Linked DNA regions of Homo sapiens: regions 1, 3 and 4 are each linked to region 2. The links are contacts of gene promoters, found by promoter capture Hi-C in blood cells and fetal thymus (Javierre and others, 2016). All regions are on one chromosome and are shown on one strand. Each heading gives the region's core, a stretch centred on a gene start or on the middle of the fragment in contact. The rest is flanking DNA. Distances are from core to core; before and after follow the strand shown. Region 1 overlaps NID2 (nidogen 2). Region 2 holds the start of PTGDR (prostaglandin D2 receptor). Region 3 overlaps NID2 (nidogen 2). Region 4 overlaps TXNDC16 (thioredoxin domain containing 16).

Region 1 (7,199 bases), core at 1-2,500, 240 kb before region 2:
ATTAGCCGAGCATGGTGGCCCATGCTTGTAGTCCCAGCTACTCCAGAGGGTGAGGCAGGAGGATGACTTGAGCCCAGGAGCTTAAGCTTGCAGTGAGCCATGATTGTGCCACTGCACTCCAGCCTAGGTGACAGAACAGGACCATGTCTTAAAATATATATATTTATTTCTACATAATAGTCAATGCTCATTGAGCATTTATGTGTGAGGCATTGTTCTAAACAGATAGGAGGATGCCTGATTACATCCTTCTAACTACATGGTGAGGAAAATACTATCTCCACTTCTGCTGCATCACAGAGAGGCCAAATAACCTGCCCAGGGTTACACAGTCAGAAGAGGTGGATGGAGCTGGAATAAAAGTCTAGCAGTCTGGTTCCATAGCTCATGCTTTCCACCGCTTTGCTGCAACCCTCACTGAAGGAACTTCATGAAGTTATCTAGTCTAAGCCAATGGCACAGAGGTATTGGAAGGAGTGTCAGATGCTCAGGTAGAATGAATCTATCAACTCTGGCACTTCTGTGTACTTCTGAGTCTGCCATGTAAAATGGAAATAGGAACATGTACATCTGCCAATCCTGCTAAAGAAAATTAAGAAAACCCAACAGAACATATTTGAAAGGCAATTCCCCATTGGCAGGTCTACCCAGTCTCTACTGACTGCACTCCTTCTGCCTTCTCAGTGGGGCCACTGTTCATCATTATTTGAGGTTCTAGCTCAACCTCAGTCCCTAGAATTAACTCTAATCTTAGACTCAAAAGATTTCCAGAGCCCCAGCTAAGCCTGTCAGGTTCTACATTGAGCCATCTCTGCTACAAAGGGAGATCCATCTAAGTTGTAATAACTCAGGCTTCTGCCTCATACTTCTGTGCCTGAGGCCCTGTCTTGATAGCCAGCTTAGCATCCTCTGAGTCCCATCCTGCTCACCAGTTCTCACTACTCACAGACACCAGCATCATGGCATCTGTAGGCAGACACTGGCAGTACCACCCATTTTACCACCTCCTCCTGGATTCTCTATCATTTCACTCTTTCTGACCCGTGTCTCCCACCCCACTTTGTACAGAATCTTCTATTAAAATGGAGAAATAACAACAGGAGAGAATCAGGTTCTTGTCTTATACTGAGCCTTCAATGAGGACATGACCCTGTTGTTCTCCATTGTAACAGATGCTGACTCAGGAACCTGGTCTATACTCTCAAGTTAACTTGGCAACCACAACCCCACTGCTATGGGGGGAGACTTGCCCAGAGTGACTCCTAATCTAGATCCCAAGTGCTGACTGCTGCAGCTGACCTCATAGACTGGACTCGCTCCCAAGTCCTTCAGGGTGTCTGGCATTCTCCCCCGTGCCTGCCCTACTGCCCACGTTATGGCTCTTCCAGTGCCCTGTCATAGCCTGCTGTGAGCTGGGATGCCTTGGCTGAGACAGCCTTGTTTTCTGGTAAACTCTTTCCATCCCACTTTATAAGAAACACCACAGTGCATTCTTGTAGTGGAATATTCCCGTATTATTGATTCCCGTATTATTGGCTGAAAATAAGGAGGGCTATGGGTTTATCCTCAGTTCACCACAATGTTGTCGGCTGGAGTAACAGAATCTTTGCCAAAACAAAGGACCAATAAATAATTCCAGCACTTTTTAAACCTGATGAACTATGTCAGCATAAGCCTAGCTCCCTGAAGCATGCAGACATCCTTGGAGGTCCGTTCCTCTGGATCTCTTGGCTGACAGGAAAGAGGCACCGCACTGGGGTTGTGGTTGCCGAGTTAACTTGAGCCTAGACCAGGTTCCTGAGTCAGTCCTCAATAGGTTATAACTAAGGACAAGGTCATGTCTTCATCCATTAGGACCCAATGTAAGACAAGAACGTGATCATCTCCCATCATTTCTCCATTTTAGGAAGATTCTGTACAAAATGCCTGGCATACCCCACCAAAGCAGGAAGTAATTGTCAACATGTTTTGATTTATAAATACTAATGCTTAGCCTTCTTATTCAGTACTTTCCAGCATCAAAATTTCACCATGGCACATTCCAGCAAAGATTAGTGTGTTCACATGGACATCAAGAGCTTACCACCCTGCTAGGCATTAAAAGAAAAAAAAAAAATCTCAGCTCAAAAGTTGACTTGCAAACTTGGACAGGATATATTATCCTACCTAAAATTGAGAAGAAAGTGTCCCTAATTACTCAATACTGATTTAAAATGTATGTCACTGACAGGATTAGTTCCATAATTTGCAATCCCCAGTGCAAAATGAAAATGTGGAGCCCATGGTTCAAAGCAAAGCGTTAAACCAAGCATGGGGCTCTTCTGAGCACAGGGCCCCATTCACTGAACTTGGCTTCCCAAAACATTTTTAAAATACATTTCTAAAACCATTTCACGACTCATTCTCTATGACTTGTAAGCTTTTCTCCTATTATAGTAAGTAAAGAACACAGTATCCTTCTTAAGACATTTTCTATTTCGCCCTCACCCTCTTAAACTGCCTGACTCTCTTAACAGAGGATCTGGAACTAATTTACTCATTTAATCAAGGGGAAGAGCGGTTTTCCTTAAAGGAACAGTCCCTTCAGCTTCACTGCACAGCCCTCTGCCCAGAGCCTCCTCAACTCGCCAAAAGGACCCGTGAAGTGGAAGGACAGGAAGCATTTTTGGATCGTGTTTTATGACCCCACAAAACAACCAACCAACCAACAACAACAAAAAACAGCTGACTCACACTTAAAGCTTAAAGCTCAAACAACTGGTGGGGGGTGGCACTGCTGGTTGAGAAGTCACCGAGGGACAGAGGCTCCAATTACTCACTGGGAAAGACACCCCAGTTCTGCATCCTCGCCCTGGGAAGTCGCACCACACCCACATCAGGTGTGGACAGCTGCGCTGTTTCACATGAATTCCAACAACTATCGTTCCCTCTGGAAAAACTGAGCAGTTCTTAGGAAGATACTGCTGTGTACCAAGAGGGGAAAGAAAAAACTTTTGGGTGTTTCTTTTTTGTTTTTCTTTTTTTCCCTCCTATTCAGGTAGAATGAACAGTACTGCTGTGTGTGGATGAAGTAGGGTTCAAACACAAAGGGTTTAAAAGACACACATTGCCTCTTTCAAAGTTTGGTCTAAATTATGAGGCAGTCATGAGGCCACTGTGGAACAGCAGAGCCATGAGGGGTAAGGGTGTGCGTACTGGAGCCAGTGCCTGAGTTTGAGTCCCAGCTCACCCAGGTCACTTACTATGACCAGGCAAATTACTTCATTTCTATACCTCAGTCTCATCATCTGTAAAATGGGATAACAAATAACCCCACCCCCACCCCACCATTGGGTAGAGGTCATTGTGGGGATTAAATGAGTTAATTCATGTAAGGTGCTTAGAACAGTACTTGGCACCAAGTAAACCATCCTTTGATATTATTATTTGACTGGGGTGGGAGGGAAAATCATAAAATTCTAAAGAAAACAAGCAACTTGGTACCTGCCAGTTTGCTTTCTCTGATCCTTTCTTACTCTCATTTGGTATGTCTCTAGGAAAAATATACCCAGAGACACATCTTTTTCCTAAATGGTTCCAGAATCTGAATGGGACTCCATAGCCTGGGAAATTTCACTAACAGTTGCTTTTACAGATCAGATGCCTACACCCAACACAGGGCTGACCTGGACATTTAAAGGTAAAGACCATTCTCCCCAGTAGGTTTAAATCTCTCTTTGAGAAATCTACTACAGCAATCTTTCCCTTTCTAATTTACATGTTCCTCTAAAATCAACTCACATTTTCATGTGTTCATTTGCTACCTTACAATCCAATATCTGGGCACCTAATGCCTACATTCCCAACCAAGTTTCTTAAAACCAAAGCACCTCGGGATTCTCATTACAAGTCACTTTCGCATCCTAGAAAAGAGTCTAGTCCTTGTACCTTAATCTTGTCATATTGCTGAAGCAACACTTCTTTATTGAGCCTGCTGAGGCTTAAGGAGCCCTCAGCTCCAATAACAAAGCACAGAACCGCGTATCACTTACAGATTCACCTCACTGAGGAGCTAACTCTGGGCTCAACAGTTTCAATACAGTGGCTGAATTGAGGAAGATGGTTTTTTTCTCCTGGTGTGGCTCTTACATTCTAGGGGAAAACATGACCTGGTTTTCAGAATTAAAATGTCCCCTTGATCTGACAAAGCCACTTCCCATCTGTAGAGTTCCCTGACTTCACAAGCTCATCCTCTGGCTTGCTTGAAACATTTTTTAATAATTAAGACCTTGCTTTTTAGGATGGTTTTACATTTAGAGAAAAATGGAGCAGAAAGTACGAGCTCCCATATCCCCCCACCCAAAATGTGCAGTTTCCCCTATTATCAACATTGTGCATTAGTGTGGTGCATTTGTTATCCCCAATCAATACTGACACATTATTAACTAATGCCCATAGTCTGCAGTAGGGCTCACTCTTGGTGTTGGACAGTTCTATAGACTGACAAACGCATAATGGCCTATAACCAACATTACAATATCATACAGAATAGTTTCACTGCCCTAAAAATCCCATGTTCCACCTATGCATCCTTCTCCTTCTTCCTCCTGAACCACTGGCAACCACTGATCTTTTTACTGTCTCTATAGTGTAACCTTTTCCAGAATGTCATGGTTAGAATGATTCTGTATGTAGCCTTTTCAGACTAGCTGCTTTCACAGAGCAACATGCTTTTAAGTTTCCTGCATGTCTTTCTGTGACATGATATGCCTAGAACATTTTAAAATCAGTCTTCACAGGTGAGGCTAATGGTCATTAAAATTTGAGAACCACTGCTTACTTTGAGACGGGGTCTTGTTATGTGGCCAACTCTGGCCTCAAACTCCTGGGCTCAGGTGATCCTCCCACCTCAGCCTCCAGAGTAGCTGGGATTACAGGTGTAAGCCACTGTACCCGATGAGAATGGTTTTAGAGTTTTGTTTCTACTACTATTTGCTTCCATTTATTTTTATTTTTTGAGACGGAGTCTCACTCTGTTGCACAGGCTGGAATGCGATGGCACAATCTTGGCTCACTGCAACCTCCGCCTCCTGGGTTCAATCAGTTCTCCTGTTTCAGCCTCCTGAGTAGCTGGGACTACAGACACATGCCACCACACCTGGCTAAATTTTTTTGTGTATATATATATATATATATATATGTTTTATTTTGTAGAGACAGGGTTTCACCATGTTGGCCAGGCTGGTCTTGAACTCCTGACCTCAGGTGATCCACCCACCTCAGCCTCCCAAAGTGCTGGGATTACAGGCATAAGCCAGTATGCCTGGCCTTCAGTTGAGAAGTAATTCACATACCATACAATTCATCCGTTTAAAGTACATAATTAAACAATTTCGTCTATTCAGTGTTATCCAACCGTCACCACAATCAATTTCAGAACATTTTCATCACCCCCAAAATTAACCCTGTACCCTTTAGCTATTAACGCCCTATGCTCTCATTATCTCTTAGCCCTGGGCAACCATGAATATGCTTTCTATGTATGTGGATTTGCCTATTTTGGATATTTCACATAATTGTAACCATTCAGTATGCTGTCCTTTGTCACTGACTACCTTCACTTAAGGTTTTCAGAGTTCATCCATGTTGCAGCATGTATCCGTACTTCATTCCTTTTTATGGTTGAATAATATTCCAGTATATGAATATATTTTTTGGTGTCCATCAACTGATGGGCATGTATGTTGCTTCCACCTTTTGGCTATTATGAATACTGCCACTATGAATATACACGAATAAGTTTTTGTGGGGATCTATGTTTTCATTTCTTTTGGGTATATAGAAAGGAGTAGAATTGCTCCATTAAATGGTAACTTTGTGTTTCACTTTGAGAAACCACTATTTTGTTTTTCACAGTAGCCACATCATTTTATAATCACACCAGCAACGTATGAGGGTTCCGAATTTTCCATGTTCTCGCCAACACTTGTTATTACCCGTTTTTTGATTATACTCGACCACATGATGTAAAGTAGTATCTCATTGTGGTTTTGATTTGCATTTCCCTGATGACTAATGATGCTGAGCATCTTTACACATGCCCATTGGGTATCTGTATATCTTTTTGGAGAGAGGTCCTTGCAGAGCTTTTGCCCATCTTTTAGTTAGCTTGTTTTTTTATTGAGTTGTAAGATACTTCGTATACTCTAGAACAAATATCACATGATTTAAAATACTGTCTCCCATTCTATGGCTGTGTTTTCACTTTGTTAATAATGTCCTCTGAAGCACAAACTGTTAAAATTTTGATGACACCCAGTTTATTTTGCTGTTGCTTGTGCTTTTAGTGTCGTACCTAAGAAACCATTAGCAAATTCAAAGTCACAAAAATTTACCCATATGTTTTCTTCTAAAAGTTTTAACTCTTACACTTAGGTCTGTTGGCCCATTTTGAGTTGGATATGCTGTGAGGTAAAAGGTTCAACTTCATTCTTTTGTATGTGGTCACTCAGTGGTCCCAGCACCATAGTTAACAATAGTTTAAAAGACTATTCTTTCTCCATTGAATTGTTTTGGCACTGTGTTTTTTGTTTTGTTTTGTCTTTTAACCATCAGAATTCTATTATTATTATACTTTAAGTTTTAGGGTACATGTTTACAACGTGCAGGTTTGTTACATATGTGTACATGTGCCATGTTGGTGAGCTGCACCCATTAACTCGTCATTTAGCATTAGGTATATCTCCTAATGCTATCCCTCCCCACTCCCGGCACTGTTGTTGAAAAAGCAATTGACTTTTAATGTGAGTATTTCTGGGTTCCCACTTCTGTTCCTTTGATCTTTACATGTATCCTTACGCCAGGACCACACTGTCTTGATTACTCTAGATTTCGAGTTTGAGAAATACAAGTCTGACTTTATTCTTTTCCAAGATTGTTTTGGCTATTCTGTGTTCTTTGAATTTCCATATAAATTCTAGAATCAGCTTGCCAATTTCTTCAAAGAGCCAGCTGAGATTCTGATAGGGATTATGTTGAATTAATAGATCAATTTGGGAAGTATTCACATCTTAACAGTATTAAGTCTTCCAATCCATGAATGTGGAACATCTTCCCATTTAACTGGGTCTTAAATTTTTTTCCAAAAATGTTTTGTGGGATGCAATGTACAAGTACTGCACTTCTTTTTAAAAATTTATCTCTTTTTGAAACAATTTCTT
Region 2 (6,974 bases), core at 3,293-5,792:
CATGGACAGAAGCCAAAGATCAAAATGGAAATTCTTGCTAGGCAAAAGGTTGGGGAAGCCTGAAAAGCAGGAATAAGAATCAAACAAACATGAAGATTTTATTAAACTACCTGCAAATAGCAAACAGATGCCAAAATATTTGGGCAGACCACCACAAGACATTGTGTGACCCCAAAAACACAGGGCACTGACACATGGTCTGTCCCTGGTGGTAGTTCTGCCTCTTGACTTCTGAGCAGATAGAGGAAGTGGCAGGATCTCTCCTTTCTCTCTCACTCTCTGGTCTTCTCTGCAATTCTCTTTCTCCAAGGCAGAGGCTTGGGGAATCCAAAAGACCTGGATGCCAATTCTAGACTCATCACATACCAGTTGTGTGAACTTAAACAAGTTATTAACCTCTCTGAGTCTCATTTTCCTTATCCAAGAAAAGAGAGATAAAGAAAACTTCTGCAGTGCAGTTGGCAGGAATAAAAACATTAATGAACATCACTTACGGAGCCACGCAGAGCATGCCACAGCACAGTGCTTAACATTCTCACCTGAGCTGCACACAGGAATTAACTGGGGAGCTTCAAAAAAGATACTGAAGCCTGGAGGGCAACCCCAAAGAGTCTGATATCATCAATTTGGGGTGCTGAAGCATCACAAAGGTTTAAAGCTCTCCAGGTGATTCCAAAGTGCAGCCAAGATTGCTAACTATTGTTCTATGCAGATTATTTCATTTAAGCCAGATACTACCCTAAGAGTTCAGTCCAATTATCCCCCTTCACCCTCCTTCCCTCCTTTCTACAGACAAGCGGATTGAGGTTTAGAAAGGTTAGAAGATTATGCAAGGGTACACAGCTAGCAAGGGGCAAAGCTGAGATTTAAGTTCACACAGTATGACTCCCAGGACCTAACACATCATGGCCACACTTCTATGCTACCACTCCAGGTCCTGAATGTGAACGAACATCTAGCATGGTCTCTAGCATGCAGAACATGCTCCAAATTTGAGAGCTAAGTTTGTTTATCATTTGTTAGCATCCCTCCTCTCCATTCCTTGCTCTTCACAAGCCCCAGCCCAAAATATCACTTGGAGTTCAGTAGAAGTGAGCAATGGATAAGATTTAGAAGCATAGTTAGAATGGATCCAGAAAAAAATAAATGTTCCTTTTTCCTTCTTTTCCCCTTCCTAGATCCCCACCATAAGCATACATTTCTTGTATTAGTCTGTTCTCATGCTGCTAATAAAGACATACCTGAGACTGGGTAATTTATAAAGGAAAGAGGTCCAACTGACTCACAGTTCCACATGGCTGGGGAGGCCTCACAATAATGGCAGAAGGTGGATGAGGAGCAGTCACGTCTTACATGGCAGCAGGCAAGAGAGAACTTGTGTAGGGGAACTCTCCTTTATAAAACCATCAGATGTTGTGAGACTTATTCACTATCACAGAACAGCATGGGAAAGACCTGCCCCCATGATTAATTACATTTCATCAGTTCCCTCCCATGACCACATGGGAATTATAGGAGCTACATTCAAGATGAGACTTGGGTGGGGACAGAACCAAACCATATCACTTGTTTTACATTTAAAGTCTTTTAAAATAATTATTACATATACAACATTGAAAATATCAGAAACCAAGGAGATATTTTTCTGCCATCCCTTCTCAAGTCTAAGTGAATGTTTTCATTTGCCTATGTCAGCTTCTGAGCCTTGTCCATGAGAATCTATGATTTTTATGTTTATATTGCCATAATATAATTATATATTTAAAATAGTCATCCACATGATGTCATATATTTTCAGAAGATTTGTCCTATAACCCAATTAAGCAGCCTGGTACAGCTCTGTAGATAATGGAGGTAATTTTACCACTAACTTAGCCTAAGATATTTTCATTAAAGGTTTCCCTTTTAAGGAAAAAATGTACTTAGCCTGGTTACTCTGAAAGCTGATATAAAAATGTATAAGCCTGTAGAGGTCACACGACATGATGTTTGCCTTTCCTTATCTGTTGTATGCCCCTCAGTGCCCACATGCTTCATCCCCTCACCCCCATGCTTGGCACAGAGTAGGAGCGCAAAAACTATTTGACGCATGAACAAATGATACTTTTCTTGGTTGTATGGTGAAATTACAAAATAGAATTTCTCGGGAACTGGGACAGAAGACTCCAAAGTTAGGCCTGAGAACAGGGTAGGGTGGACACCAGCAAAGCAATCAGGAAAGGCAACCGGAAACCCCATCGTAAAGGCCAGCTACAGTGGCTGAGAGGAAACGTGTGGTTTCCTGAATTGCACTTGTTCAAAACCTTCAACCTTAAAGCATGATGTATGTAAACCTTATCAAGGACCCACAGCTGGCCCAACAGTCACACTTTGGGGTTGTTTTCTTTAAAAGGTATTTGTAATCTTAGGGTTCCTAGGATAAATACGGAGTTGTAAGCCACTGTAGCATGAAAATAAAGCTGCAAAGAATTGAAGTAGGTATGCTTCAGAAGAACAACCCATGCAATATTTTTAGAGGAAGGATTCTTAAGCTAGTGTCCATTGGGTCTCCTCTGGGTACCATAGAAGGGCTTCAGGAAATGGTGAACAGCCTGAGATTGATGTAAAGTGTGTGTGTGTGTGTCTGCGTGTGTGTCTGTGTGTGTGTGCCTGTGTGTGTGTGTGTGTCTGTCTGTCTATGGAGGAGACCACAGCTTTCATCAAATTCTCATGTCTTTTGGTTATGGGGCCTGCTCTTCCTTTCACTTCATTAAGTCGAGTGGGGCTCTTCTAAACCCATTCTTATGTGCTAGGGGCTAGAGATGGGAATGAGAGAGAGTAGGTAGAAGACAAGGGAACTAACTCTATACAAGGCCTTCTATTGAGTCAATATAAGTGAAAGGCTTAGAGAGTGTCCAACCTGCATCAGGACCAATAAATATTAGCTCTTATTATTATTATTACACTATGCCAAAGCACTTCAAGTTTTCTCAACCTCACAACAACCCCACAAGTTCAGCATAAGTCTCATATTCCATTAGGTTGAACAACTAACCCAGGGTCACACAGCCAGTGGTGGAGTTCAGAACTATCTAATTCCAAGCTTAGATTCTTCTTTTCCACCCTGTGGCCTGAATTACTGGCCAGACTTTCAGTCTGGAGGCAGCCTCTCTGTCTACCCTTCAGGCTTTCACATCTAAATCCCAAGGGTCTTGCTCTTTCCCTGAGTCTGTCCATCAGAACTGGCATGAGGCCTAAAAATGAGCCGTTTCAAGCCCAGGCATCATCTACTCACTTACATAACAAAACCTTAGTCATCCCACTGAGATTCCACACTCAAAGCCAATTTCTCTCACAGGGCATCGAATGCTAGTTAAAGATATAAAATCACGCTTATCACAATTAACTCCCTTGCCTTTATGATGCAGCCAAGTCAAAGCCCAAACAGGAATAAATTTTTTCTAGTAGCCACAAATCAGAGGAGTGAGAAAGCTCTATGCCAAATCTACCATTTTCTGATTTCAAAATCCATGCTAAAAACTGCAGTTAAACATCAGCTACCAAAACACCCTTCTATCAAATAAGAATCATGGTGATTGCATGAATTGAGCACTTTCTATGTACTTGCTCTTTACGTGTTATTTCTATGCCTCAGAAGAGCCAAGCAGGCCAGATAGATGTTACTGCTTGAGAGGCTAAGCAAGTCCCATAAGGTCACACACACAGTGAGGAGCAGAACCTGGACTCAAACCCAGGCCTATCTGATGACAGCAACAGTGCTGCTAACCATGCCCTTCCCCCCAGCTCTCTACAGTCAATGTGATTCATGGCACCCAGGACCAACACCGGCTCTTGGCTTTCCCACAAACCACTTCCCTGAAATCTGGACAACTTCTTGGGAGGAGGAGTCATGGGAACAGGACAGATGAACTCCAAAATAGAAGATCGGGTGAGAGGTCCGGCTCTGCTACTTCTGTAGCTCTGTCACCACGGGCAGATCACTTAACTTTCCAAGGCCTCAGTTTCCTCGCCTATGCAATGGAGATGACCGTGAATGCCCCAAATTGCGCTGATCTAGTAGAGAAGAGGAGCTAAGGCTCAGGGGCTTTCCAGACGTGAGTTATCTTTACCTTTCCTTGACTAGCTAATTCAAGACAACTAGGTAGAAGCCCTTTCTCAGCCTCCCCTCTTCGCTCATCTTTCGAGTTCTTGGCCACCCCAGTTCAAACACCAGCACCATTGCCCTCCTCTCAGGTGGCTGCTGCTTAATTTCCCCTCCACTTTAGTAGTTCTTCTCTTGCCTCGCTAGAAGGACTGGTGTTGGGTGCTTGGAATTCTGGCTATTTTCCTCCTGCCGTTCCGACTCGGCACCAGAGTCTGTCTCTACTGAGAACGCAGCGCGTCAGGGCCGAGCTCTTCACTGGCCTGCTCCGCGCTCTTCAATGCCAGCGCCAGGCGCTCACCCTGCAGAGCGTCCCGCCTCTCAAAGAGGGGTGTGACCCGCGAGTTTAGATAGGAGGTTCCTGCCGTGGGGAACACCCCGCCGCCCTCGGAGCTTTTTCTGTGGCGCAGCTTCTCCGCCCGAGCCGCGCGCGGAGCTGCCGGGGGCTCCTTAGCACCCGGGCGCCGGGGCCCTCGCCCTTCCGCAGCCTTCACTCCAGCCCTCTGCTCCCGCACGCCATGAAGTCGCCGTTCTACCGCTGCCAGAACACCACCTCTGTGGAAAAAGGCAACTCGGCGGTGATGGGCGGGGTGCTCTTCAGCACCGGCCTCCTGGGCAACCTGCTGGCCCTGGGGCTGCTGGCGCGCTCGGGGCTGGGGTGGTGCTCGCGGCGTCCACTGCGCCCGCTGCCCTCGGTCTTCTACATGCTGGTGTGTGGCCTGACGGTCACCGACTTGCTGGGCAAGTGCCTCCTAAGCCCGGTGGTGCTGGCTGCCTACGCTCAGAACCGGAGTCTGCGGGTGCTTGCGCCCGCATTGGACAACTCGTTGTGCCAAGCCTTCGCCTTCTTCATGTCCTTCTTTGGGCTCTCCTCGACACTGCAACTCCTGGCCATGGCACTGGAGTGCTGGCTCTCCCTAGGGCACCCTTTCTTCTACCGACGGCACATCACCCTGCGCCTGGGCGCACTGGTGGCCCCGGTGGTGAGCGCCTTCTCCCTGGCTTTCTGCGCGCTACCTTTCATGGGCTTCGGGAAGTTCGTGCAGTACTGCCCCGGCACCTGGTGCTTTATCCAGATGGTCCACGAGGAGGGCTCGCTGTCGGTGCTGGGGTACTCTGTGCTCTACTCCAGCCTCATGGCGCTGCTGGTCCTCGCCACCGTGCTGTGCAACCTCGGCGCCATGCGCAACCTCTATGCGATGCACCGGCGGCTGCAGCGGCACCCGCGCTCCTGCACCAGGGACTGTGCCGAGCCGCGCGCGGACGGGAGGGAAGCGTCCCCTCAGCCCCTGGAGGAGCTGGATCACCTCCTGCTGCTGGCGCTGATGACCGTGCTCTTCACTATGTGTTCTCTGCCCGTAATTGTGAGTCCCCGGGCCCCGAGGCAGCAGGGCACTGAGACTGTCCGGCCGCGGATGCGGGGCGGGAAGGGTGGAGCGGATCGGGATGGACGCGGCGCCAGGCGAGCTGCGCCCTGGGCCAGGAAGGTTTGCTGCTGAGTTCCCCAAATTGGATTCCTTCCACAGCCCCGAGATATAACTCAGTTTGCGGAGCGAAATGAGGGAAAGTTAGAGAAAGGAAGGGAAAGGCTGAGCCCGGCGGTGTCTCCCTAGCCCAGCAAAACCCTCTCCATGTGGCAGAACTCCCTCCTCTCTGCTTCCTTCTGGGGAGATCTCGAGGTCATTTTTGCGCCTTAGGAGGAGCAGAACTTAGTTTCTCCTTGGCAACAGGAGTCTTCTACTTCCCGACGGCTGGGTGATGTTTTATTTTGTTAGACCTGCTCATGACTTCAGTGGTATCAGAAATGGGCGAATGGCGTCTGGGACGATCTTCTCCCCGGTGTTGGCATAGAAAGGGAAAAAGAGGTTTAAGCCAGCCAGAGTGATTTGCAGATGCATAGTTTTAATTTTGAAAAACGCGTGCGTAAACTTTGAGACGCCACGGCTGCTGTTTCTGGTGCTGCATCCGCCAGGGATTGTGGCGATGGAGGCCGAGGCTCTTTGTATGTTTTAGCTGCTGGTGTCGTTTTGACAACCTGACTTGACGGGTTTTGAGTGTATCTTGGCAAGTGAGGTGACATGAAAGCCATTATCTCCGGTTTCAATTTGGTAATGAGGATAGCGATGGAAATGAAATTATCTCCTCATTTTGAAGGCATTTGTTCCTGGAGTCCCCGCCAAGACACCTGGGAGTAGGTGAGGCTTGAGGAAACATTTTCAGTGCTGCTCCTCTCCTTTCTCCCAAGGTACCTGTTCAACAAAAACAATACTTACAGAAATTCCATTGCCAATCCCACGTTCTCGAAATCCTGAGACTTCTGTGAATAGGAAAGTTGTTAAATTTCTTCTCAGAATGTAGCCATTTTGGATATTACTTTCAATGGTGAATGAAAGGGAAATACAAAGCGATTTTCCTTTAAATGAAGGCCTTACTGCTTGCGGAAAAAGAAGTCTGGGGCATCAGCATGCAGGGGTGGGAACAGTATGCCCCCAAAATAAATAAACAAATACATAAATCTATATCTATCTAAATGTAGATATAGGCGCAGATGACATATAGCAGTGGTCTTCAGAATCACCAGCTCAGAATCACCAGCAAGGCTTCTAGAAAAAAAGATGGCTGGACCCCATTCCCCAGAGTTTCTAATTCAGACATTTTTAAAGAATTTTCATTCTTAACAAGTTCCCAGGTGATATGCAAGCTCAGATTCAGGGTTCACATTTGTAGAATCACACTCTAAAACAGGAGTTAGCAAACCACAGCTCACAGGCCAAATCTTTCCTGGCCACTGTTTTACATCTCCCTGGAGTTAAGAATAATTCTTACAAATGAA
Region 3 (6,833 bases), core at 2,236-4,735, 220 kb before region 2:
AAGTGTAAGGAAGCAGCTACAGGAGGGACTCACACACTCACCAGTGTGCTCATGGCTTAAGGGCCATCAGGACTTTCTCCCAGAGCTCAAGGAATGAGGGGCTGCAGAAAGCGCCAAGCTCTAGGACTCAACCTCAGCCCTCCCTCGGGGGCTTTGTGGAAACTATGCAAACTGTCTTTCAGCTTCCTCATCTCTAAAATAAGTAGAACACCTCTTCCTCACCCCTGCATTGCCAGAAGTCGCATTTCTTCTTAATGTACTTCTGAACACCAAGTAAAAAGGCAATCTGCTATAGGTCTAAAGAACAGCCATTTGGCTGGGCCCGGCAGCTCACACCTGTAATCCCAGCACTTTGGGAGGCCGAGGCAGGCGGATCACGAGGTCAGGAGACTGAGACCATCCTGGCTAACACGGTGAAACCCCGTCTCTACTAAAAATACAAAAAATTAGCCAGGCGTGGTGGTGGGCGCCTGTAGTCCCAGCTACTCGGGAGGCTGAGGCAGGAGAATGGCGTGAATCTGGCAGGCGGAGCTTGCAGTGAGCCGAGATCGCACCACTGCACTCCAGCCTGGGCGACAGAGAGAGACTCCATCTCAAAAAAAAAAAAAAAAAAAAGCCGTTTTCATAATATTCAGATAAAAATCAATCCAAACTTTACAAGCTGTTCTGCCCACAAATTAAGGAAATAACAGGCTTGGATTGTATCTTATTTCAGTTATTTTGTGAAGCCTTATTCTGCAACCCAATTCTTATTCTGAGGCTGAATTATGAAACAAGGAGAGAGAAGATGGAGGAGAGACAGTCTAGATATGGAGAGTTAAACTAGGTGGAGTCATAGCTTTTATCTAAGTAAAAAGAGGCAGGGCGATGCAGCCAGCAACTTACAAGTGCAACTGTGCAAAGGTTTATAAATAGATTGGAAGCTGTACTACATTTTTCTATTACAGAAAAAGAAGTTATAACAATGAGCAGGCTCCCATGAAAGGCTATTATGAGACTTAAACTGTAATTACAATGGGCTAACTAGTTACTGTTAAGCTAACCTGGGAGTCTTTTTAAACAGTTTTGTGGAATATTGTATTTTTAGGATGGTACTTACTGAGCCAAGAACACACACTGTCTCTTTCAGCTTCATAACAGCCACATGAAGGAAAGAAGATGGATCAGCCCCTAATCCGGGGGAAGGCAAGCCTCCATTTATAATCCCTCTTCCACGCCTGCCTTCATACCCAAGTGCACACACAGGTTTGCACACTTACCATTTACAATGGCAGCTTGTTAGGTGAAAGGTAAATGCTTCTTACAATTTTTGTTCATTCATTCACTAATTCAACAAGTATTTACTGAGCATTCACTATAGACCTGTACCTAGTCTAGAAACTGAGGACATGGCAGGGAGCAAAAGAGACAAAAATTCACATCCTGAAGCTTACATTCTCCCCAGCAGCAGTCAATAAACAAGTAAATTACTTAGTGGGGTGGATGTGTAAGAGCTGTGCAAAGAAATACAGCAGAGAAAGACAAGAGGGTGGGAGGGGGCAGGTGTACATGGCTCTTTTTAATAGCATGGTCAGGGAAGACCTCAGGAGAAGGTGACTGAGCAGAGGCCAGGAGGAGGTGAGGGAGTGAACCCCACAGATGAGGGCAGGCGTGGTGCTGTGTCAGGCAGGAGGGGTGTGTGGGCATGTGGGAGGGATGGTGAGAGAAGAGGTGGCCTGGGTCATTCATGCAGGGTCTCAGAGATCACAGGAAGGATTTGAGCTTTCATCTGAGTGAGATGGGAAGCACTAGAGGGTTTCGAGCAGAAGAGTAACATGCTCCGACTACAGTAAATCAGACAGGAGCTGGTCCCTTGGTGGTAAGAAGTGCTGGTACAGGGGATAAGAAGGGCCCAGGTCTGGGATATTCTGAAGGTGGAACCGAGAGGGTTTGCTGGTAGACTGGATGTGGGATGATGTTCAGTCCTGATGTGGGAAACCAAAAGGGTGGAGCTGCCAGTTACTGAGATAGGGAGACTGAGGAGGAGCAGGTTTGTGGGGTTCAGTTCTGACAACAGCATGAGGCATCAAGGAAATTCACCAAGGGGTGAATAACAACTTACACCCTCAGCACAGCACCATGCAGTCCTTCACACGGAGAGCTGCATTTCTCCCGGTGGATTCCAGAGACCACTGCATCAGGATCACCTGAGATTTCTGTTAAAAATGCAAATTCTGAGGGCCCACCTTAGACCTACCAGTTCCACTCTCTGGGTGCATCCTAGCAATCTACACTTTAGCCACCCCGCCAGTGATTCTCACACCAATTGGTGTTGATAGAAGGCTTGGGATACAACAAGCCTTGGATTTCTGAGCTAGGTGTTGCTCATCAATGTCGTTAACAAATTTAATCTGACCAATTGGCAGCTCCTGGGGTGGGCAGAATGTTAGGAAATTTCTCGTGCTCATTTCTGGCCACCTGAGAAGCTGAGCTCAGTGCTTACGGCCCATTTGGGCATCCATCCACAAGAATACAACGTGAAGATTCTTTAGTGAAAGTAATACAGACGCACAGCAGCCAGATAGCCCTTCCCTGAAGAAGGGGGAGACCTGGAGCTAGAACGGTGCTGAGCCCACGTGCAGCTATTTATCCAGGGCGAGAAAAGCCAGACCTCCGGCCAACGTGACTGCTCAAATTTCTATGGGAATTGCAGTGAAATTCAAAGAGGCTGAACTTCTTGAAGGCTGGGAATCAAGATCTGGATCCCAGCTAGATGAGATGTGCAATAAACCCACCCGAGGAAAAGTGGCACTTTTTCTTTTCGGTGGTCATTTTCATGTCCCTATCATGGCTTTGAGTGTATTTTCATGCACTTCTTCCTATTCTAGTTAGAAGATATCTCCATTTTATAAATGAGAAAATTGAGGCCTACAGAGATGAAACAATCTTCTGGCTCTAAATCCCATCAAATTGAGGGGGCATCAGAATCACTGAAGTGCAGAGGAATATGGCAGGGTCAGACAAGAGGGTGAGAGAGGGCAGGCACACCTGGCTCTTTGAAATAGTATGGTCAGGGAAGACCTCGGGAGAAGGAGACATTTGGGCAGAGGCCTGGAGGTGTTGAAGGAGTGAGGTGGCTTAAAAATGCAGTTTCTGGTTCAGAAGGTAGAGGAGGCGCTTGGAAATCAGTGTTTTTAACCAGGCTCCCAGCTGAGTGAGAGGAAGGTGGATGAGTGCCCACACTTTGAGAAATACAGTTTCTAGTCCATGGCCTCCTCTGGGACCCACACTATGCCAGGAAGCTCCTGCCACGGAGAGTCAGACCATAAAGAAGTTTGCTGACACCTCAGGGCACAGCAGGAGGGTGGAGGCTGGCCAGGTTTGAATGAACTCATTTTGTCATGGATTTGTTAACTGAGGTTTGATAGTTGCTAAAGGATTCTTAACATGAAGATTTTTTAAATCTCTTTTTTTTCTATTTAATGTTTTTTTTGTTTGTTTTTAACTTTTCTCATGTCCTTAATAGAAAGAAAAATGGGGTGGGGAGATATCAGAGGAAAGAAAGAAATGCCCTGCCAAAGGACTTGAGACTTGTCCTAACTAGGAGTTCGTAACAAAAATGGAAAATTCTCCTCTGCACTTGTTCTGAGCCATCTTTCAATCTTCATTTTCCCAGAAACACTTAAGCACCTGTCTGCAGCCCTTGGCCGGCCTGCCCTTCTTCACAGAAGGCCCTGGGCCAGACACAGGGGAGGTTCCATGGTGTCGACTGGGTTCACTGGGCCAACACAGAGGGACACAGGAGGCTTCGTGCACAGGGCTGCTTCAGGACAGCTGGAGCAACTACTAACAATTTTTACTGCTACCTCAAAAAAAAAAAAAGTCATTTTCACCGCAGGAAAAATTCTTCTAAGTTTTCCCATCTCTCAGAATGACAGACTAGTTAGAAAAACCATATCCAACTTTATAACAAACAGTGGAATGCTTTTTCGTCCAGTTTTCATGTTTGTTTAATTTTGATGTGTGTGGCATGTAATGATGCTGGTGGCAGTGATCACGACCCTGGGGGTGGCCTTTTACAACTGCTGGCATGACACTAACAGGCTCTCTCCACTTCTGGTGAAGGGAGAGGGGCCCTACCATGGAATCTCCTCATATAGGTGTCTTCACAGGCATCGGGGGGCGGCGGCTCCTGGTCACAGACCCTCTGCAACCTGGAGGTGCACCCAGGGGATGGTCTTTGGCACCTGGAGGGTTGCACTGGCAGCAGAACCTGCTTAAATTCTTCTCAGGGTGGAAGTTGAGCTTGCAACACACTCCTGCAGCCTTTCACAAGGCCAAAAGTGGAGTGGGACTACATGAGGTTTCTGAAAGCCAGGTGTCCTTCCTCCTAACTCATCATGCAGATTGAGATTAAATTAAGCTGCGTATAGCACTGCCTCAGCAGGCTTAAGAATAACTAAGACCCCTATCAGTAAACCTCATTCCTTTCTACTCACAACACAGGCAGTCCCATGGTCCCAGGCAGCTGAAGCCCTCACTGGCAACTCTCTCACCCCACTGCCTTAATCAACCTTTGTCTCTGTCTCTCTCCCTCCTTTCCTCCCTCCTCATTCCCATCTCTGCAACTCCGCTCTTGTCACTTCTCTGTTCATAATGTTTTCACACATTCTCCCTCTCAGACTTTGACCCCAGGCCTGGCTCAAGCCCCTCCTTCCTCACAAAGACTTCCCCAACAGCAGTGACACTCCTGGACAGTGCCTTTGACTCTCTGTCACCCTACAGCTTTCTCTAATTTCTTCATGACTTTGTTGCAGTCTTTGCCCTTGCTAGACAAGTCACTAAGTATTTCCAAGCTCAGTTTCCATCTCTGTAAAATGGGAAGGATGATTGTACCTACCCTACAGGACAACTTTTTTTTTCAGACAATATTTCTCTCTGTTGCTCAGGCTATGCAGTGGTACAATCATGGCTCACTGTAGCCTGGAACTCTTGGGCTCAAGTGATCCTCCCACCTCAGTCTCCCGAGTAGCTAGGACCACAGGTGAGCACCACCACACCCGGCTAATTTTTAAAATTGTTTATAGAGGCAAGGTCTCCCTATGTTGCCCAGGCTGGTCTCGAACTCCCCACAGGGCAATTCTGAGGACTAACTGTGATAATGCAATCTAATGCCAAGTTCTCACTTTAGAGCAGCAGGCTGCACTTAGCAAATGCCAGCCAAAACTTCCACTAGCACCGAGTCAGAGACAGGTACACGGCAGGTGCTTGGGTAACTTTTTGACTTGACAACAAAACGACCAGAGCTCCCTGGAAACAAGACTCCTCAGAGAAAGCATGCTTGCACATCCATCTACTGCTGTTCTGTGGCCTAGGAAGACAGAGCTCGAGTGTGGCCAGGACATTCCTGCCTGGTGTAGATATGATCTGAAAATCTAAATTTCTGAACAAAAAGAAAGGTCTGTAAAATGAGTCCCTAAGGGGAAAAAAATGTAAAAAGGAGTGATATTTTCTGGGCCTTTAACTAAATCTTAATTTCTTGGTTTAGCAAGATGACTACCCTAAAGCTTCAAAGGGAAACTAAAATGTATTGGGCAGGGTGCTTCCCAAGCTCAATTTCAGTTCTTGCAAGTATATGACGAGGTCTTCATTAACTCTGTTTTAGAGCTGAGGAGAGCCAAGGGTCAAACAGACTACATGTCTTGCCCCAAACCACATAGCAGAGCTGGGAGTCAAGGTCAAGTCCAACCAGCACCAAAACCATGTGCTTTCTATTCCATCAGCAGAAAAAGCCAGGCAGATGCCACATGGCTGGGTACTTAGTACCGGACAATGTTCTGTGTCTCTGCCACTCCCACCCCACAGCTTCCCGGAGGAAGCCCACACTTACCAGACAGACCTCTGAGCCTCCAATGTTTTATGTGAAAGAAACAGTCACTGCATCCCCTCAAAAGTATTTAACAATTGCATGCTTCTATACTTCATACATCCCCGTAAATTCTTTTAAAACAAAAACTGGATTTTTTTTGTCTAAGTTTCAAACACTTCTAGATTTCTTCCTCCAAAATGCGTATTAACCAGCTTTTTCACAGGCGTTTTTTGCCATTACCAGGATGTCTATAGTAGACTGCATCCGGCAGCTGATAAATATCATAGTTCATGCCCCACAAGGGTTATAGCTGTGCCTCTGTTCTACTCTATGGCTGGTTCCTGAAGCCTCCTGCACTTTACTCCAGTGATCTCAAGCTCTCAGAGCCCAAAGCAGGGTGTGCAGTCCCTTCTTAACCCTTTAATACATGACTCCATAGATCTGCTTTTTAATATTCCCACGCTCTTCCCAGGGAAGGAAATCACAACCCACAAATGAGAAGGCCATTCAGGAATGCGTCTTTACCTCAAATCCCTTTGTGAAAATCTTTGATACTTGGCCTTAAAATGTATTTAGAGGAAACTCATACTGTAAATTCTGGAGATTCTCAGAAGGATCTGAAGGTTCTAAAGACTTCCAATAAAATTTACATCTTCAACTTCATGGAAATGTGGTCCCTTAGGCACAAATTAATGTGAAACTCTTTAATAAGCACATTCTTCATTCTCTACCCATCCTCCACCCCATTCCCACTGTTTTAAATCTTCTAAAATTAGTAACAGCAGCCACTATTTATTAAGAACCAGTGAGTGCAGACACGAAGCCAAGAACTTCACATACGCTGTCTCATTGAATCCTCCCAAGTAATTCCTGAGAAATCAGAGGCTTATGGGTTACATAAGTTACTTCAGGTCACCCAGCAAGCTTGGCAGCCAGGATTCAAACTCGAAGCCGACACCAATGTACTCCCTCGAATCCTTACACA
Region 4 (7,675 bases), core at 1,939-4,438, 210 kb after region 2:
TACCCAGATACAGAATCAATGTACACAAATCAATAGCTCTTCTATACACCAACAGCGACCAAGCTGAGAATCAAGTCTAGAATTCAACCCCTTTTACAATAGCTGCAAAAAAAAAAAATAATAAAAATACTTAGGAATATACCTAACCAAGGAGGTGAAAGACTTCTACAGGGAAAACTACAAAACACTGCTGAAAGAAATCGTGGATGACACAAACAAATGGAAACACATCTCATGTTCATGGATGGGTAGAATCAGTATTGTGAAAATGACCATACTGCCAAAAGCCATCTACAAATTCAACACAATTCCCATCAAAATACCACCATCATTCTTCACAGAACTAGAAAAAACAATCCTAAAATTCACATGGAACCAAAAAAGAGCCCACATACCCAAAGTAAGACTGAGCAAAAAGAACACATCTGGAGGCATCACATTACCTATTTGAAACTATAAGGCCAGAGTCACCAAAACAGTGTGGTACTGGCATAAAAATTGGCACATAGACCAATGGAACAGAATAGAGAACTCAGAAATAAACCCTAATACTTACAGCCAACTGATCTTCAACAAAGCAAACAAAAATATAAAGTGGGGAAAGACCTATTCAACAAATGGTGCTGAGATAATTGGCAAGCCACATGTAGGAGAATGAAACTGGATCCTCATCTCTCACCTTATACAAAATCAACTCAAGATGGAGCAAAGACTTAAATCTAAGACCTGAAACTATAAAAATTCTATAATAAAAAGAAGACAACATTGGAAAAACGCTTCTAGACATTGGCTTAGGCAAGAATTTCATGACCAAGGACCCAAAAGCAAACACAATAAAAACAAAGATAAATAGCTGAGACTTAATTAAACTAAAGAGCTCTTGCACAGCAAAAGGAACAGTCCAGCAGAGTAAACAGACAACTCACAGAATGGGAGAAAATCTTCACAATCTATACGTCTGGCAAAAAACTAATATCCAGAATCTACAATGAACTCAAACAAATCAGCAAGAAAAAAACAAACAATCCCATCAAAAAGTGGGCTAAGGACATGAATAGAGACAATTACAAAAGAAGATATACAAATGGCTAATAAACATGAAAAAATGCTCAACAACACCAATGATCAGGGAAATGCAATTCAAAAACACAATGAGATATCACCTTACTCCTGCAAGAATGGCCATAATCAAAAAAATAAAAAAATAATAGATGTTGGCGTGGATGTGGTGAACAGGGAACTCTTCTACTCTGCTGGTGGGAATGTAAACTAGTACAACCACTGTGGAAAACAGTGTGGAGATTCCTTAAAGAACTAAAAGGAACTTGATCCAGCAATCCCACTACTGGTTACCCAAAGGAAAATAAGTCACTATATGAAAAAGATACTTGCACACGTTTATAGCAGCACAATTTGCAATTGCAAAAACATGGAACCAACCCAAATGCTCATCAATCAACGAGTGGACAAAGACACTGTGGTGTGTGTGTGTGTGTGTATATATATATATGTATATATATATATATATATATATATAATGGAATACTACTCAGCCACAAAAAGGAATGAATTAATGGCATTTGCAGTGACCAGGATGAGACTGGAGACTATTATTCTAACTCAGGAATGAAAAACCAACCATCACATGTTCTCACTCATATTTGGGAGCTAAGCTATGAGGATGCAAGGGCATAAGAAAGACAAAATGGACTGTGGGGACTCAAGGGGAAAGGGTGGGAATAGGGTAAGAAATACAAGGCCACAAATTGGGTGCAGCACAGTATATACTGCTCAGGTGATGAGTGCACCAATATCTCACAAATCACCACCAAAGAATTTACTCATGTAACCAAACACCACCTGTTCCCCAGTAACCTATGGAAATAAAAAAAAATTTTAAAAAAGGAATGGTACACTTAGGGTTGAGTGTCTAGAATCAATTTCTTGAGTTTTCAAAAGCTTCAATGTATAAATAAGTTGTACATCAGTACATAGTTTCCACTAAATGAAACAAAATTTATGAAACTCTATTATTCATTTATCCAACAATTATTGAAAACCAGATATTCTGCAATGTAAGGCAATATGCCAAGCCCAGTAAGCTGATATAAGGCACACTACCTAACCATAAGGAACTTACATCAAGCACACCTAATCCATTATTACCTCTCTTACTAACAGGCCTCCCTCATTTTCCCCTATGTCTTTGCTGAGATGGTAGCACAGATATTTTCAGTTAAAGTCCATTCCTTGGATCTTTATTTGCCCACTATTAAATGAGGTTTCACAGGATGGTTAACATAAAAAGATCCTGGATATTAAAAAGCATTCCATCCATGAGGAGTAAACTATATAGTTTCAAGGACACGGGGATTTTTGATCTCTCATTAGACCATGAGACTGGGTCTTGAATCTGCCAAATTTTTATTTCCAGTATTTAACTGGAGTAACTGGCACAGAGTAGGCACTCATAAATGCTTGCTGAATGACTGACTTAAACCAAAAAGGTTGTTGTATTAACTGTGTAGCCACAAGTACTAAATACATAGGCTTTCTACTTTCTACTAAAGACAGTTCTATGAAGACAAATCAAAGTGAATGCTCCTAAGCACTCTTGAAACTCCTGGTTCATTAACTTAACCCTGGAGACACAAACATAGTAACTGAAATTTTATGTGGTTTTCTATATTTTTTGCATGACATAGTTTTACAAATAGCTACAGCTTAGAATCAGAATAATAAGCATGCATAGCACAGTACACTACCTTTCAGTTTAACTGCCACATCAATATAGGATTGCAAAAATGCCATGGATACTGCTTGCCCTATATGAAAATTAAAAATTCAACAGATATTACATGTATATCTACAAAGCATCCACACTGATATGTAACAAATATACAGATTTATGAGGTTTCCCAAAATTATTGTTAATCAGAAATATTCTACTATACATTTCTCAACATAGTCCAACCACTTAAGAGAGTTTCAAATGCAACTGATTTTCCGCACTTGTACTGCAAGGAATATAGCTAAATGGCTATGATTTGAAGATAAAAGCAATATACTTACTATAAATCTATAATAACTGTTAATATGTTAAAAATCATTAGCGTGAGTCACAATTTTTCAAAATTAATGAACATCTAGTTTAATCATTCACCTTTAATTTGTAAATCAGATATAAATCAATTGCACAATCCCAGAATCAGAAGTAAATGCTTCAATGCACACAGTCTACTTGAGACATACGAAAGCAATTTCATTTTACAACATGCAATACATGGAATGCCAAAAATTAAATCTGGGTTTTTAAATGTCCTAATATGTAACAGTCCTCTAAAGGCTCATACTCACAACCAGCATAGAAGAGTACTATGCTGTCAGAAGCCATCACTGTTGCATTAAATGTTTCTTCTGTTAGTTCCACTGTAAGTTCCAAAGGTAATTTTCTCTTCCTATCTCTGAAAACAGTTTCTGCCACTTCATCATCCTGAACATCTAAAATGTTGGAAAAGAAATTAATTTAAATATTGATGTATAATGAAAACTATTTAAGCTCTTCTCATAGGAAGCATATAATAATTCAGTACTTTATACAAACTTTTGAATTCATCCTATCTTAATAGTTAGGATGCATGATATTTAGAAAACTTTGCAGTTGCTTAACTGACTCTGAGATGCTTCCTGACCTAGAAGTTGGGAAGTTTTAGTCAATTTCAAAATTAAAATTTGTTCTACAAAGAATATTAATAGTGCCATTTTGTTTATTTTGCCTCTACTATATGCCAAGCATTATGACAGGCACTAGGAAAACTGGTAAACAAAACAGACATAGTCCTGACCACATGGAACTTCTATCTATGGAAAAGTCAGATAAACTGATCACTGAATAAATATATAATTATAAATTATGATCAATTTATGAAGAAAGGTAAAGGATACACTGAGAGATTATAACAGGGCTATTTAGATTGGGAAGCCCAAAGTCTGCCAGGTAGAGAATCAAGAAAAGAATGTTTTAGACAAAGACAATAACATATACGAAAGCTCTGAGACATAAAAGAGTTGAGCACATACAAGGCTGAGGGAAGGCAAATTTGACTAAGACAAGATGGGGCTGAAAGAATAAACAGCATGAGAAAACTCTAGGCTAGGCAGTGGCTAGATCATAAGAGGTCACATGAGCCAAGAAGTCTGGATTTTATCCAAAAAGCCTCAAGTTATGAGTGGATTCTGAATATGTGAAACCCTTCCTTTAGATAGACCAATCAATAGACTGATAGATTCATCCATCCATCCATCCATCCAACCATCCATGTACCTTCAAAAATACATTTGGATTCATAAATATTCTGTTGGAAGTTTGTAGAGATTGTACGGTAAGACAGATGGAGCATATAACTTGATTAAAGGATAAAGCTTCTTTATGAACATGAAAACATGAACATGAAAAGGAAAATAAAACTCAGGTAGGCAGAGAAGAAAGGCAGTGGTGGCATAAAGAGCAAAGAGAATGGCATGAGCAAAGGCACAGTGGCATGTAAGAGCATGGTGCAATCAGAAGTTCAAACACTGACTGGATATACGATGGTATTAAGAATTGTTAATTTTTTAGATGTAATAATAGTATTAATTATGTTAATGTTAAAAAGGAAAATCCTTATATTTCTGAAACCCAGGGAAATACTTATAGATGAAATTACATGTTTTGGATTTGCTACAAAACAATAAGGGGGGGGGGTGATTGGAGCAGAATGAGCCATGGTTTGATAATGGCTGGGGCCAAGTAATGGATAACAAGAATTTGTTCTATTATTCTCTCTCCGTATGTTCGTAATTCTCTGTAACAACACATTAAAAAGAAAGAAGGGAGAGAGAAGACAATACATTCATAGAACTAAAGTATTGTTTTATACATAATTTCTAATACAGTCACGTACCACATAATGATATTTCAGTCAACAATGGACAACATATACAACTGTAGTCCCTTAAGATTATAATAGAGCTGAGAAATTCCTATCATCTGGTGATGTAGTGGCCATTGTAACATCGTAGCACAACACATTACTCACATGTTTGTGGTGATGCTGGTGTAAACAAACCTACTGTGAGTCATATAGCACATAAGGCCAGGGACAGTGGCTCACACCTGTAATCCCAGCACTTTGGGGGGCCGAGGTGGACGGATCACTTGAGGTCAGGAGTTCGAGGCCAGCCTGGCCAATATGGTGAAACCCCGTCTCTACTAAAAATACAAAAAATTAGCAGGGCATGGTGGCGCATGCTTGTAATCCCAGCTACTTGGGAGGCTGAGGCAGAACAATCACTTGAACCCAGGAGGTGGAGGTTGCAGTGAGCCGAGATTGCACCGCTGCACTCCAGCCTGGGCGACAAAAGTGAAACTCTGTCTCAAAAAAAAAGAAAAAAGTACAGCACATATAATTATGTACAGTAAATAATACTTGATAATGATAATAAAGGACTAGATTATTGGTTTATATATTTACTATACTCATCATTAGAGTGTACTCCTTTCACTTATAAAATAAAAAGTTCACTGTAAAACAGCCTCAGGTAGGTCTTCAGGAGGTGTTCTAAAAGAAGGCACTATTATCATAGGAAATGACAGCTCCATGCTTGTTACTGTCCCTGAAGACCTTCCAAAGGGACAAGATGTGGAAGTGGAAGAGAGTAATATGGATGATCTTGATCCTGTACAAGCCTAGGCTAATGTGTGTGTTTGTGTTTTCGTTTTTAGAGAAAAGTTTAAAACGTAAAACATAAAAGTTTTAAATGGAAAAAAGCTTATAGCATAAGGATATAAAAAAAGAAAATATTTTTGTACAGCTGTATGATGTGTTTGTGCTTTAAGTTTAATGTTATCACAAAACAGTCAAAATGTTTTTAAAAATTGTAAAAATGTATAAAGTGAAAAAGTTACAGTAAGCTAAGACAAATTATTGAAAAAAAATTTATAAATTTAGTACAGCCTAAGTGTACAGTATTTATAAATCTACAATAATGTAATGTTCTAGGCCTTTACACTCACTCACTGACTCACCCAGAGCAACTTCCGGTCCTGCAAGCTCCATACATGGTATGTACCCTATACAAGTGTACCATTTTTTATCTTTTATACCATGTTTTTATTGTACCTCTTCTGTGTTTACACGTTTAGATACATAAATATCTACCATTGTGTTATAGGTACCTACAGTATTCAGTACAGTAACATGCTGTATAGGTTTGTGGCCTAGGAGCAATAGGATATATCATACACCCTAGGTGTGTAATAGGCTACACCATGTAGGTTTGTGTAAGTGAACTTTATGATGTTTGCTCAATGAAATCACCTAATGATGCATTTCTCAGAAACTATCCTCATCGTTAGGAGACACATGACCATACAATAAATTAAAATTCTAGATCTGGATTTCACTACAACCTCAGCCATTTTCTATACGACTCTAGTCAATCACATAACTCTCTGGGCCTCAATGTTCAACTCTTGTGAAGCATGAGAGTTGCACTATATAACTTAAAGGTACTTTTAAGCACCAAATTCCATGACACTAAAAATTACATTCTCAATACCAAACTTAGTAAAGACCTATTTTCTTATTTACTGTATTTTTTTCTTATTATTCATATATTTTCATTTTCCTGTCAGTCTTCTGTTTCTTTTTCCTCCTTTCCCTCTTTTCTTATATTCTAAATAAGCTACCATCACTTGTACATTTAGTCACTCCTCAGCTCTACCTTCAACCTATTCATTAATAACATACACACTATTTTCAGTCACACATGCTGCTTTTTTTTTTTTTTTTTTTTGAGACAGGGTCTCACTCTGTTGCCCAGGTAGGAGTGCACTGGCAAGATCTCAGCTCACTGCAACCTCCAGCTCCTGGGCTCAAGTAATCCTCCCACCTCAGCCTCCCAAGGAGCTGGGATTACAGGCACATACCACCATCTTGGCTAATTTTTGTATTTTTTGTAGTGATGGGGTTTTGTCATGTTGCCCAGGCTGGAACACATGCTTCTTTTCTTTTTTCAGATTGCCCTTCTGTGGAATCTAGTCTTTTTCATTCTGATTCCATTTTGCTGATTTTCTCTGGGGTGCACCTGTCTCTGATTTACATTCTCAGATGGTAATAAATTCTTTCCTAACCCTTATCTAGTTTTCCTTTGTAAACGGGAGTGATACAGAGGGAGGGGGAAGAATTAGATACAGGCACAACACCATACAACATTCTGGGCCAGTATGGATTACTGATAATAGGAAGTTAAGATGAAAAATAAACAAAAAAGGCAAAGCTGCAAAAGAAATACTAGAAACAGGCTGGAGGTTATTGAATGTTTCCAACACAAAGAAACGATAAATGTTTGAAATGATGGATACACTCAATACCCTGACCTGATCACCATACATTGTATGTATTGAAACATCACTATGTACCCCACAAATAGGTACAGTTATTATTGGTCAATTAAAAAAATGGAAATAAAAACCAGAAAGAGAAGGCAGCATCAGAGGGTAAGTAAGGCCACAGAGTCAGGAAACAATATAGAGGCTGTGGCCACAAAGAAATCTTCAAACAGGCGACTCCCACTGAAGACAGGAATCAAATAAACTGAGACTAGGGACAAGTCCTCTAACTCTGAAGGTTCA

The links. The method cuts DNA at HindIII sites, captures the fragments that hold promoters and counts their contacts. A CHiCAGO score of 5 or more calls a contact.
Region 1: a contact is called between a fragment that was not itself captured here and the fragment with the promoter of PTGDR in region 2, in 1 of 17 cell types (total CD8 T cells). The highest score is 5.3, in total CD8 T cells.
Region 3: a fragment that was not itself captured here is called in contact with the fragment with the promoter of PTGDR in region 2 in 2 of 17 cell types (total CD8 T cells and M2 macrophages); the score reaches 7.5 in total CD8 T cells.
Region 4: a fragment that was not itself captured here is called in contact with the fragment with the promoter of PTGDR in region 2 in 1 of 17 cell types (monocytes); the score reaches 5.2 in monocytes.

Annotation. Positions count from the first base shown.
Region 1 is chr14:52,030,701-52,037,899 of GRCh38, forward strand. All of the region lies in intron 9 of NID2 (nidogen 2), which reads right to left. Among named protein-coding and RNA genes, the nearest start is that of NID2, 35 kb to the right of the region's middle. The HindIII fragment of the contact is 2,333 bases long and covers 85-2,417 here.
Region 2 is chr14:52,263,156-52,270,129 of GRCh38, forward strand. It overlaps PTGDR (prostaglandin D2 receptor), which reads left to right and starts at 4,543. Exons shown (of 2, transcript NM_000953.3): 1 at 4,543-5,505. The coding sequence starts at 4,660. The HindIII fragment of the contact is 7,987 bases long and covers 3,081-6,974 here.
Region 3 is chr14:52,045,728-52,052,560 of GRCh38, forward strand. All of the region lies in intron 5 of NID2 (nidogen 2), which reads right to left. Among named protein-coding and RNA genes, the nearest start is that of NID2, 20 kb to the right of the region's middle. The HindIII fragment of the contact is 4,118 bases long and covers 1,427-5,544 here.
Region 4 is chr14:52,479,465-52,487,139 of GRCh38, forward strand. TXNDC16 (thioredoxin domain containing 16) reads right to left here. Exons shown (of 21, transcript NM_020784.3): 13 at 3,358-3,501; 14 at 2,766-2,825. Among named protein-coding and RNA genes, the nearest start is that of TXNDC16, 69 kb to the right of the region's middle. The HindIII fragment of the contact is 2,463 bases long and covers 1,958-4,420 here.